2 separate regions of the Homo sapiens genome follow, and region 1 is linked to region 2. Evidence: promoter capture Hi-C in 16 types of primary human blood cells and fetal thymus (Javierre and others, 2016). All regions are on one chromosome and are shown on one strand. The core of a region is centred on a gene start or on the middle of the fragment in contact, and the rest is flanking DNA. Distances in the headings are between cores, read along the strand shown. Region 1 holds the start of EXOSC5 (exosome component 5). Region 2 holds the start of CYP2B6 (cytochrome P450 family 2 subfamily B member 6).

What was found. The method cuts DNA at HindIII sites, captures the fragments that hold promoters and counts their contacts. A CHiCAGO score of 5 or more calls a contact.
Region 1: a contact is called between the fragment with the promoter of EXOSC5 here and the fragment with the promoter of CYP2B6 in region 2, in 6 of 17 cell types (total CD8 T cells, total CD4 T cells, total B cells and 3 more). The highest score is 9.8, in total CD8 T cells.

What each region holds. Positions count from the first base shown.
Region 1 is chr19:41,395,595-41,402,239 of GRCh38, forward strand. It overlaps EXOSC5 (exosome component 5), which reads right to left and starts at 1,765. Exons shown (of 6, transcript NM_020158.4): 1 at 1,587-1,765. The coding sequence starts at 1,734. It overlaps BCKDHA (branched chain keto acid dehydrogenase E1 subunit alpha), which reads left to right and starts at 2,224. Exons shown (of 9, transcript NM_000709.4): 1 at 2,224-2,341. The coding sequence starts at 2,234. RefSeq lists a silencer at 1,688-1,976 and enhancers at 1,735-2,407, 1,973-2,252, 2,408-3,079. The HindIII fragment of the contact is 9,689 bases long and covers 1-6,645 here.
Region 2 is chr19:40,988,774-40,995,237 of GRCh38, forward strand. It overlaps CYP2B6 (cytochrome P450 family 2 subfamily B member 6), which reads left to right and starts at 2,509. Exons shown (of 9, transcript NM_000767.5): 1 at 2,509-2,703. The coding sequence starts at 2,533. RefSeq lists promoters at 280-2,548, 849-2,514, enhancers at 773-820, 803-822 and cis regulatory regions at 864-876, 2,251-2,274. The HindIII fragment of the contact is 6,148 bases long and covers 1-2,762 here.

The DNA of each region.
Region 1 (6,645 bases), core at 515-3,014, 410 kb after region 2:
AGGCTGAAACAGCTGGTCAGCCCTCACATCTCAGACATGCTCTTTTCTTGGCCCCAGGTCACCACCATCTCCTGGTTTCCCCCTAACTCTCTGGGCGTTCCTTCTGAGTCTCCTTTGCTAGCTTGTCACATGTCTCTGACTGCTCAAGTTGGAAGGCCTAGGGCTTGGTCCTGGGACCTCTTCTCTTTTCCATCTACACTCACTTCGTTCAGGCAATAGCCTGAAATACCATCTATATAGCCAGAGAGTTCCAAATTGCCTATGTCCAGCTTGGGTCTCTCTTCTGATTTCCAGACTTGTACAGATCTGGGCAGAAACCTTAGTTATGCCTGAATCTTTTTCCTCGCACTCAAACCAAACTATACGTAAGTTTTGTCCGTATTACTTTCAAACTACATCCAGAATCTCATCACCTCCACTACTCCTGCTCTGGCTGGAGCCACCATCACCTCCCTGTTTTCCCCCATACTCCCCACAATCAACACAGCAGCCAAATTTTGTTAAAATGTATTGGGGCTGGGCGTGGTGGCTCATACCTGTATGAGCACTTTGGGAGGAGGATTGCTTGAGCCCAGGAGTTCAAGACCAACCTGGGTGACATCGTGAGACGCTGTCTCAATTTTTTTTTTTTTTGAGACAGAGTCTTGCTTTGTCGCTCACGCTGGAGTACAATGGCACGATCTCGGCCCACTGCAACTTCTGCCTCCCAGGTTCAAGTGATTGTCCTGCCTCAGCCTCCCGAGTAGCTGGGATTACAGGCGCCCGCCACCATGCCTGGCTAGTTTTTGTATTTTTAGTAGAGACAGGGTTTCGCCATGTTGGCCAGGCTGGTCTCGAACTCCTGACCTCAGGTGAGCCACAGGTCTTGGCCTCCCAAAGTGTGGGGATTACAGGCGTGAGCCACCGCCCCCGGCCTCCCGTCTCAAACGTTAAAGAGAAATATTCTTGGAGTTAATCTACTTCTGAGAGTTATTTAGCTAGGAAAAGGGGATATTTGCTCTATAGGTAAGACTTGCCCTAATCTTTTTTTTTTTTTTTTTTTTGACTTGCCCTAATCTTAGGGATATTTACTTGTGTGGAGAGATGCAGTGAGGTAGCGGTGGGGATGTATTTCTCAACCCAGCGCAATGACATTATCTTCAATTTGAGGAGTATTTACGTGGGTGAAAGATCCGCCACAGTCCACAGTATGCAAATAGACAGGTTTGCTTCAGTCCGGGATGCAAGGACCTAGAGGGTGTGTGTGTGGGGGGTGGGGGTGGGAGGGTGGAGGAGGAATCGAGTTAAGGGGGATATTTACCCTGGCGAGGTGATTTTCCCTATTCTGAAATATCAATTCTTGGGCGGACAGTCTGCCCCTCCTCTCATTCTCAGAGATAGTTACAAAGATGGAACTATCTTCTCCTTTCTAGTCGTGAGGGAGAGATGTGTGTATCCCTGCGTATTTAGTAGTATTCAATCGGACAAGAAATCATGCATCAACGCAGGAGTGACATTTACCAGCTGGTATCGTGAGGAGGTGGGCACTCGGTTGCACAGTACACGGTAGTCCCTCTCCAAAAGAAAGACCTGGGTGAAGTTCTTACCTTGCAGGAAGGAAGCAGAGCCATCTGGCCGCGACAGCAGGTTCTGTTCGCAGGCAAAGTGCCGGAGGCTGCAGCCAGGACCCCGAGGGCTGGACCCTGTTCCATTTTCAGCACGGATTTTGGCGTCAGTATGCGTCTCCTCCTCCATCGCGCCGAGCCCACGTGCGGCTGCAGTTGTCACTTCCGCCTGGCAGCGCGCGCCGCAAACAGGCTGCGTAACCAGTGCGCACGCGCCGGGCTGGGCCATCCTCCTGGGCGTCCGCACGTGGCTTAGCGTTTACCAACAATCTGGCTCCGCCCAGTCCCACCTCCTAACTCTGGCAACGCCATTGGACATTTGGGAACAGAAGGCAGGCCTTGGCATTGATCCGCTTTACTCTGGGCCCCCGGGCCCTAAATCCCTGAGGCCCTGGTCAGGTTGCCCTCTTCTTTGCCTGTTACAGGAGTAACTACAATGAGGCGATTGGAGAAAATTTTGGGTAGATAGATTTTTTTTTCTCCAAATCTCTGTGCATTCTATCTACCACAGAACGGGAAGAAGATGGTTTTCTTGTCAGATGGTGCTGGAGTTTGCGTCAGGCACATAAAGAGGCAGCCCCGAATCTAGCCTACGTGAGTGCCGGACCGCTGAGTGGTTGTTAGCCAAGATGGCGGTAGCGATCGCTGCAGCGAGGGTCTGGCGGCTAAACCGTGGTTTGAGCCAGGCTGCCCTCCTGCTGCTGCGGCAGCCTGGGGCTCGGGGACTGGCTAGATCTGTGAGTACCTGGGCCCCAGGCGGTTTTCCCAAAGGGGATTAGGGATGTAAAGGCTATCTTCAGAGTGTGGGGTCCCTGAAGGATATGAAGGAAGGGCTGTCACAAAAGGGAAAAAGAGTGGGAGACTCCTTGGAGAAGACACCGAAGGGAAGATCTGCCACTTCCTTAGGAGACGAAAAGAACTTCCACTTCTTTAGGAGAGGAAAAAACCCGTTTGCAACTTCTTTGTGGGCCCTGAGGGAGACGACTTGAAGAGAGAGATGGGGGTTCCTTATTAGCTGCCACTGGTATTCAGGGGAGGCTCCTTGGAGGAACAGGGGAAGACCGCAAGACCTTCTCCCTCAGGGTTTGGAGAATGAAACTGACTTTGTAAGGGAGGGACTTTCTTCTGGGCAAAGATCCCTCTTCAAGAAGAAGAAAGAAGAGAACAGGTCCCTGTCACAGGCTGCATAGGGCCTTGTATTTCTTTGCTCCTTTGCCACAATTCTGATTTTAAAATGAATTGTGTAAAAAATTTGTTTGATTCCTGTGTCTCTTGATCGAATATCAAGACAGAGAATTCGTGTGTTCTGGACACTGTACAGAGGAGACGATTAATATTTGTTGAATTAATGAGGGGAAAAAAGGAGGGAGAGAGGTACAGACAGGGCACTTTGCCCACATTTCTTAGAAACACTTGAGAAGGCTTTGTTTCTTGTCAAAAGGGTCACAATCCCTTCAGGTGGATGCTGCTAAGGGCAAGATTACACTGCAAAAAACCTAGGTGGAAGCCTATCTTTAGACGGGGAGAGGCAATGGGTTGCAGAAGAGCTTTGAACTACAGTTGACAGATAGGAGAGTAGTGGTTACATGGGTGGATGCATGTCCTTGCTCTGCCGCTTTCCACTTGTGTAGCCTTGGCCAACGGACTGCACTTCTCTGGATCTATGGAGCTAATTTTCCTCTCTAAAATATTAACAGTGGCCACCTCATAGGGCTGTGAAAAATCAATATGTAAAATGCTAAGGACTGGACCTGGCACATCCTAAGGGCAATAGGAATGTTGATAGTGAGGGTGGAGGGAAGGGACAGAAACTAACCTTGGAGATGGGGAGAAGAAAGGGGTGACCTTGGGAAGGCCTGGATTGGTGAGGCCCTGGGGAAAAAAATCTGAAAAGATATTGTGAGGTTGAGTCTGATCCTCTGATCCCCAATCCATAAGGAGGGGAAGATGGAATCTGTAGAAAGAAGCTCTGGGTAGGGGAACAAACGGGAGGAGGGTGAAGAAGATGGGCCAGGAGTAGGACGTAGTAGGTATCTAGGAACGGAGTCACTTGAAACAGGTAAATACAGAAGGGCTGCAGGAGCAAGGTGTGGGTAGGGCAGTCTCTTGCCTTTGGGCTGGAGACCTTTTCACTTTTTTTTTTTTTTTTTTTTTTGAGCAGTTCATATCCTCCACAGCTGATCTCAGTCCCAGGGGCCCATTGGCTGGGCAAGTGGGGCAGGAGGTGGGCAGGACTGGGGCAGGCTAGGGAAAGGTCATTTATGGCTGATTAAATCTTTCTCTCCTGTCTCAATCTCTTGATTACCTTTCCTCTTGCTTCCCCTACTTCATTTTTGGTGGGGAGTGGGGAGGGAAGAAGTCCCTACTTTTTATTTATATATATTTAAATTTGTATTATCTTAAGAGTTATTGTTTTTTCCCCTTTATTTCTCCCACCTGTTCTTTCTCTCTTCTTCTTTCTTTCCTCTCCTTCTCCTCTCCTCTCCTCCCCTCTCCTTTTTCTTTTCTTTTCTTTTTCCCTTTCCTTTCCTTTCCTTTTCTCTTCTCTTTTCTCTCTCTCTTTCTTTCTGTACCTCTCTTTCCTTTTTCTTTTTTTTTCTTTTTTGAGACAGAGTTTCACTCTCTCGCCTAGGCTGGAGTGCAGCAGCATGATCTTGACTTACTGCAATCTCTGCCTGCCGAGTTCAAGCAATTCTCCTGCCTCAGCCTCCCTAGTAGCTGGGATTACAGGCATGCACTATCACGCCTGGCTAATTTTTGTATTTTTGGTAGGGACGAGGTTTCACCATGTTGTCCAGGCTGGTCTCGAACTTCTGGCCTCAAGTTCCGCCTGTCTTGGCCTCCAAAAGCATGAGCCACTGCGCCTAGCCTTTTCTTTTTTTGAGACAAGGTCTCACTCTGTCACCCAGGCTGGAGTGAGTGCAGTGGTGTGATCATGGCTCACTGCAGCCTCAACCTCCTGGGCTCAAGCAATCCCCCCACCTCCACCTCCTAAGTAGCTGGGACCACAGGCACGTGCTACTACGCCTGGCTAATTTTTAATTTTTTTTTTTTTTTTTGAGACGGAGTCTTGCTCTGTCACCCAAGCTGGAGTGCAGTGGCACGATCTCGGCTCACTGCAACCTCCACTTCCCAGGTTCAAGTGATTCTCCTGCCTCAGCCTCCCAAATAGCTGGGACTACTGGCGTGCGCCACCATACCCAGTTAATTTTTGTATTTTTAGTAGAGATGGGGTTTCACCATGTTGACCAGGCTGGTCTTGAACTCCTGATCTAAGGTGATCTGCCCGCCTCGGCCTCCCAAAGTGCTGGGATTACAGGCATAAGCCACTGTGCCTGGCTGCGCCTGGCTAATTTTTAAATCTTTGTAGAGATGGGGTTTTGCCATGTTTTCCAGGCTGGTCTTGAACTCCTGGACTCAAGCGATCTTCCTGCCTCAGCCTCCCAAAGTGCAGGATGACAAGCGTGAGCCACCTTGCCTGGCCATATTATTAAATTATCATGAGTTTAAGTTTAAGTAGCCACAAGTGGGCTGGGTGCGGTGGCTCATGCCTGTAATCCCAGCATTTTGAGAGGCCAAGGTGGGCGGGTTGCCTGAGGCCAGGAGTTCAAGACCAGCCTGGCCAACATGGTGAAACCCCATCTCTACTAAAAATACAAAAAAATTAGCTGGGCGTAATGGCGTGTGCCTGTAGTCCCAGCTACTTGGGAGGCTGAGGCAGAAGAATCGCTTGAACCTGGGAGGCGGAGATTGCAGTGAGCCGAGATCGCACCACTATACCCCAGCCTAGGTGACAGAGCAGCCCTCTGTCTCAAAATAAGATAGCCACAAGTGGTTGGTGGCTGCCACATTAGATGGTGCAGGGTTTTTGTTTTGTTTTGTTTTTTGTTTTTTCGAGGTGGAGTTTTGCTCTCATTGCCTAGGCTGGAGTGCAATGGCATGATCTTGGCTCACCACAACCTCCTCTTCCTGGGTTCAAGCGATTCTCCTGCCTCAGCCTCCCGAGTAGCTGGGATTACAGGCATGCACCACCATGCCTGGCTAATTTTGTATTTTTAGTAGAGACAGGGTTTCTCCATGTTGATCAGGCTGGTCTTGAACTCCCGACCTCAGGCGACCCACCCACCTCGGCCTCCCAGAGTGCTGGGATTACAGGTGTGAGCCACCATGCCTGGCTAAGATGATGCAGTTTTATCCAGGTGGAGATGAAGAAATAGTCAGGGAAAGGTTGAGAGGCTGCATATTGTAGACAGATTGGATTACTGGGTTCACTGGGGAAGATTGGATTAGAAGGAGGAGTGGGGCTGCTTTACTTGTCCCCGACTTCTTGCCCCTGCTCTGCCCACTCCTTCATTGAATACCCTGCTGCCCTGCAGATGTGTTTGCCTGATTTTCACCTCCCTTCCTGTCTCTGTTATCATAGCAGACGTTTTAGTGCTCAGGGAAAGGAGGAGGAAGGAAACTCAGATTGTCAAGGAATTGTGAGTCAGTTTCTCAGCCACTACCCCAGGCCTGGGCTTGGCTAAGTCATTTCACCTCTCTGACCCTAGCTAGTGGGGTGAATAGAGTCCCTACCCTGTTGGAAGTCAGGAAGCCCCTGGAGCTCGCTCTGTGCTAATTATCGGTGACTATTTCTGTGACCCAGCTCTTCAGGGGCAGCCTGTCTGGGGGTTCCAGTGCCCTGTGCAGTATCTCCAAGTGGTAGGTACTCAGTGTATGTATTAGTCCGTTTTCAGGCTGCTAATAAAAACACACCCAAGACTGGGTAATTTATAAAGAAAAAGAGGCTTAATGGACTCACAGTTCCACATGGCTGGGGAAGCCTCACAAACATGGCGGAAGGCAAATGAGGAGCAAAGTCACATCTTACATGGTGGCAGGCAGACAGAGTGCTTGCAGGGGAACTCCCCTTTATAAAACCATCAGATCTCGTGAGACTTATTCAGTATAATGAGAACAGCACGTGAAAGATCCACCCCCATAATTCAATTACCTCCCACTGGCTCCTTCCCACAACATGTGGGAATTATGGGAGCTATAA
Region 2 (6,464 bases), core at 1,259-3,758:
CCCTCCCCTTTTGAAAATCACTAATAAAAACTTTCTGGTTTTACGGCTCAGGGGGCATCATGGAACCTGCCGACATGTGATGTCTCCCCCGGACCCCCAGCTTTAAAATTTCTCTCTTTTGTGCTCTGTCCCTTTATTTCTCAGGCTGGCCGACACTTAGGGAGAACAGAAAAGAACCTACGTGGAATATTGGGGGTGAATTTTGCCCGATATCTGGCTGAATTTCCCCTGATAATGCCACTCTCTATGTCCATGTGTACACATTGTTTAGCACCCACTTATGAATGAGAACATGTGATATTCACTTTCTGTGCCTGGCTTGTTTCACTTAAGATAATCCCCTCCAGTTGTATCCATGTTGCTATAAAAGACATTATTTTATTCCTTTTTATGGCTAAATAGTATTCAATGGTGTATATATACCACATTTTATTTAACCATTCATCTGTTGATTCCCTATTTTTGCTATTGTAAATAGCATTTGGACCACATTTCAAGTACTTAATTAGTGGCCACATGCAGCAAGTGACTATCACATTGGACAATGTAGCCCCAACCCACTGTATGACCTTGGGTAAGACTTGCAAACTGTCATTGCTTCAATATCTCCATCTATAAAATGGGGATGGCAACAATACCTCACTAAGAGTGTAAAGACTGAGTTACTGTGTGTAAAGCACTTCACGCCTCCCCATCGGTGCTTCACCCTGGGGCTGCAATGAGCACCCAATCTTAGTGTCAGATGACACAGCACAGCAAGACCGAGGCCCTTGGTTCAGGAAAGTCCATGCTGCCACCTCTTCAGGGTCAGGAAAGTACAGTTTCCACCTCTTACAAATAGGACTGTTTGTCTGCTCCTCCTGGGTCAAAGTAACTTCGGGTTCAGGTCCTGGATCCAGCAAAGGGTTTGCTTAACATTGCAAGAAAGATGTTGCCTCATGGTCAAAAGTCAGGCGTAGGATGAGACAGGCAGACACGCACACATTCACACCCACGTTTTGCAAAGATGGACTGACCCTGTCAGAGGATGTGTGGGTGAAGGTGCACAGTGAGGATAGAGACATATGGGAGTCCAGTAGACATCAATCAAACTGGACTCAGTTTGCACACACCTGGAGCTCAAGAGTCTCCAGGGGGAAAACAGAGACACAAAGTCAGACAGAGAGAGAGCCAGAGAAATTTCCTGCACCGTGAAGATAGTCAGAGGCAGGGAAGAAACTCCTTAGCACTAGTTAGAGTGATCAGAAACCAAGAGGACCTGATCGCTGTACCTGCCAGGTCTCAGTTTCTGTCTCCTTCCAACTGACCACCTCTTCCTCTGAGACTCACCAGTTCTGCATCTCTTGCTCCTCCTTCTGTTTCTCCGACCACTTCCACCTGTGGCTGTCACAGAAGGGCGGATGAAGGAGGGGACACTGGAGATAGACTCAGCATCTGCAGGCTTCCAAAGAGAGGGGCTAGGAGATCCACCAACACACCAGCACAAATACACCAGCACACACAGATACACACAATTGGTTCATGTATTGCTAGGTTACAGTTTGCTATGCTACAAAGGCAGTAGGCCAAATTTGATTGAATTGAATAATTCCTTATTTTCATCAGCTTCTCCTTTTTTTTTTTTTTTTTTTTTTTTTGAGATGGAGTATTGCTGTGTCACCCAGGCTGGAGTGCAGTGGTGTAATCTTGGCTCACTGCAGCCTCCACCTCCCAGGTTCAAGTGATTCTCTTGCCTCAGCCTCCCGAGTAGCTGGGATTAAAAGTACCCACCATCACGCCCGGTTAATTTTTGTGTTTTTAGTACAGATGGGGTTTTGCCATGTGGGCCAGGATGGTCTCGAACTCTTGACCTCAATTGATCTGCCCCCCTCAGCTTCCCAACGTGCTGGGATTACAGGTGTGAGCCACCGCACCCAGCCAGCCTCTCAGTTTTGAACATGCACTACCACCACCTCCACAACACACAAATGTAAATGCACTTTCGTATATAAAACTGTATAAATACAAGGAAGCTCATACACATGCAAGGATACACACATAAGCACCCCCAGATTCAACCACAGAAATATACGCCAGTACATTTGCATAAATTCAAACACCCCTTTACATGTAAAAATCATATAAGCACATACAGGGATGCAAGCAGGCATGGACAAATGCATGCAAGCACAGACAAACAGACAAAGCTAAGTAAAAAAGTGCAAGCTCACCTATGCTTACAAAAATAGACATACATATACCCACAAACCCACACACCCACACATTCACTTGCTCACCTGGACTTTGATATCTCTACCACTGTATCCCTGCCAATATCTACAGAGTGGGTAAAGGGATAGGCATCAGGTCACTGGGTTGCCCAAGCAGGAAGTCTGGGTTCCCTAACAACTTTTTCTAAGCTAATGCTCCTGGATGATGATGAAAAAGGAGGTGGGGAATGGATGAAATTTTATAACAGGGTGCAGAGGCAGGGTCAGGATAAAAGGCCCAGTTGGAGGCTGCAGCAGGGTGCAGGGCAGTCAGACCAGGACCATGGAACTCAGCGTCCTCCTCTTCCTTGCACTCCTCACAGGACTCTTGCTACTCCTGGTTCAGCGCCACCCTAACACCCATGACCGCCTCCCACCAGGGCCCCGCCCTCTGCCCCTTTTGGGAAACCTTCTGCAGATGGATAGAAGAGGCCTACTCAAATCCTTTCTGAGGGTAAGACACAGACGAATGGGGTCTGAGGGTGAGCTGCTTCTTGCCTTGGTACTTGGGGAAGCTTCACCAAACAGAATGAGGCAGACTTCCAGAGTCAGGGGTGGCACGGGCATGGTTGGTGAGTACGGAGCATGGTGAAGCATGATGGGTGGTATTATTAGGAGAAAAGCATCAAATTAAATTTAGCAGAGTTTATTTGAGCAAAGAAGTGACTCATGAGTTGGACAGCTCCCTAAACCAGGAAAGACACCACACGGCAGTATGGTCAAGTGGTATTTACAGGCAGAAAAAGGAGGTGACATACAGAAACAGCCTGATTGGCCACAGATCACAGCTTGCCTTACTTGGTCACAATCTGAGCAGTTTGCAGCCTGTGTGGACTGAAAGCCCAGCTGCTCTGATTAGCCAACACTTGGCTACTTGTCACAAGAATATATTCATTTGGGCCAGGTGCAGTGGCTCATGCCTGTAATCCCAGTGCTTTTGGAGGCCGAGGTGGTGGATCACCTGAGGTCAGGAGTTCGAGACCAGCCTGGCCAACATGGTGAAACCTTGTCTCTACTAAAAATACAAATATTAGCTGGGCATAGTGATGCGTGCCTGTAATCTCAGCTACCCAGGAGGCTGAGGAAGGAGAATCACTTGAATCCAGGAGGCAGAGGTTGCAGTGAGCCAAAATCTTACCACTGCACTCCATCCTGGGTGACAGAGTGAGACTCCTTCTCAAAAAAAAAAAAAAAAAAAAGAATATACTCCCAAGTTAGGTTGCAGTTCACTCTACAGAGAGAGCTTTAGGTCAAATTTAATTTAATTAAACAATTCTCCCCTTTTGGTCAGCCTCAAAATTTTGAGATTGACCAAAACCTTGGGCATCAACATTACTTCTGTCACCATCATAATGGACTTGTCTGCTCTCAGTATGGAATTCACAATGGACAATGTCAACGTAGTTGAGTGATTCTTTACCTTTTCTTCATGTTTTTGTTGTTCCCACTGTAATGAGCCCACTGGATGTACAAAGAATGGCTGCATATGAGCATTTAAGACTCTTTTTTTTTCTGAGACAGGGCCTCACTCTGTCAGCCAGGCTGAAGTGCTGTGGCATGATCACGTCTCACTGCAGCCTTGACCTCCCAAGGCTCAAGTGATCCTCCTGCCTCAGCCCCCCAAGTAGCTGGAACTACAGGTGCATGCCACCACGCCCAGCTAATTTTTGTATTTTTTGTAGAGACAGGGTTTTGCCATGTTGCCCAGACTGGTCTTAAACTCCTGGGCTCAAGCAATCCACCTGCCTCGGCCTCCCAAAGTGCTAGGATTACATGTGTGAGCCACCGCACCCGGCCAAGACTCTTGAGAAAATACAACACATCAGGGAGACTGTTATGATGGCTCTCAGGAGGGTAATACGAAGAAAATGAAGTCACTGGGCCTGTAATAAACTTTGAGGAATGTGGACTTGGGGGTATAGATAAGGTCCACTGTCCACAGAGAGAAGAAAGGCTGTTAATAGTCTCTTTTAACTTGAGTGTGTCCATGAACCAAACTGATCAAAATCGAATAATTCGAAGTTCAGACAATAAAGATAGTTCAATAGTATTAGAGTCCAATTGGTCATAGATTTTGTTCAGGGCATGATGGTAATTAAGGACCAGAGCTTGCTATAAAATAACTTGATTTATAGAGACATTCATTTGTAGTTGGCCTGGTAACATATAGTATCCTGGAGACCCACTAGAAGAAACATTAAGAGTAGAAAAGTTTGGGATAGCCAGGCTTGCTGTGTTAGTCCATTCTCACACTGTTATAAAGACATACCTGAGACTGGGTAATTTATAAACAAAAGGGATGTAACTGACTCACAGTTCCACATGGCTGGGGAGGCCCCAGGAAAATACAATTCATGGCAAAAGGTGAATGAGAAGCAGGAAACTTACAATCATGATGGAAGGTGAAGGAGAAGCAAGTACCTTCTTCACAAGGTGGCAGGAAAAAGAGAGAGAGCCAAGGGGGAAGAGCCTCTTATAAAACCATCAGATCTTGTGAGAACTCACTCACTATCACAAGAACAGCATGGGGGAAACCGCCCCCAGGATCCAGTTACCTCCTACTAGGTCCTTCCCTCCACACCTGGGGATTACAATTCAAGATGAGATTTGGGTGAGGACACAGAGCCAAACCATATCACTTACCATCACCATTCAGGATGCTTGCAAACCAACTGCTAGCTGCACCTGTAAACACATATCTGTTTCTTTCCCCTGAGAAATGTCCTTAGTGTATTTGTGGCAGTGTCTAGAGAAACAGCAGTGTCAGCCGCATTTTAAATTAAGTTATCTGCACTAGTGAATTCACTGGAAAGATAAGAGCAATATTTGGTTTTCTTCAGCACCATACACAAGCCTCCAAGATGGGCATAGAGGAGATCTAAAATTGCGTGATGTTCCATTAAGCGTTTTTGTTGCCACAAATGTTCTCATCTCAGTTTGGAGAGTGGCTTCTACCCATCTGAACTCCTTGGAGGTTCAATTAGCTGCAAAATTCAAGATGTCCCTTAATGTATAACTTAGCCTCAGATTCCATACAACTGTCACCCAAATACCACCAAGAATGAGCACCCAGGAACCCAACTGGAACCTTTTCTGAACAGAAACCAACTTATCTTCGTCGATTTTGAGGTTGATAGTAATTTCAGTTATTGACTGTTTTGGCTTTTAACTATGGGAGGTATTAGGAAACTCTCAGGGAAACAATTTGGAAAGCAGCAGTGAGCTAGGCCAAATAGCAAGTTCTGGACCTGTGAGGAGAAAGAACAGAGTAAGCAAACCTCAAGATACTCAAGGTAGGCACTCGTGGTGTTGGAAAAGAGGGTCACCTACTGGCATTAGAGCAGAGATCAGTTAGATTTGTTTACCCATAAGTCTGCATAGCTCCTGAACAAGGTGGGAAACTTACTTTTTTGTGGTCTTTTTCTAGCATGCTGCGAAGGTGCATAACCACATTTAGTTGGAAAGAGACTTTACTGTATTTACTTATTTATTTGTTTTTAATAGAGTTGGGGTCGTGCTATGTTGAACTCTTGGCCTCAAGCAATCCTCCCATCTCAATCTCCCAAAGTGCTGGGATTACAAGCATGAGCCACCATGCCTGGCCACTTTACATATTTAATCCAGTAACATTACACACGCAATTGCCCACACCCCCATAGGTAGTCCCCAGGTCTTGCATACGGGATGCCTGGAAGCAAAATATGCCTTTTGCAGCCATTATTCAGATACATTTCCTATATTTAGTAGTGATTATGTTATTAGCTAGTTAATAGTATGTTATTACGTACTGTTATTATATTAACTAACTAATAACATAATCACTACTAAATATTTCCAGTGAGTGCAAAAAAGCAAGTGGCAATGATGTCTAGAATATCAAGATATAGCTTTCCACTCCTCCTTTGGGGTTTCTGGGTGATTCTCATTGGGAACATGAAGAGGCATTGGCACCAGTGAAATTATTTCCTGATTTTGGGGCGTTGGTTCAGAAACTCAACAACTCCTTGTTTTTTTTGTTTGTTTGCTTGTTTTGCTAGAGTATAAGCCTTTGCTAAAGCCATTCACAGATTATAGTCCTATGGATTTTCTTGTAAGGAAAGGGAAAGGGTTAGGACAGCAAGAAATGGGGAAGAAAGGATAAAAGATAATGCTTTCATGATGGAAGAGAAATCTTGATCCACAATCTTGGAAAAGCTGTCCGCATATAAGATGCCA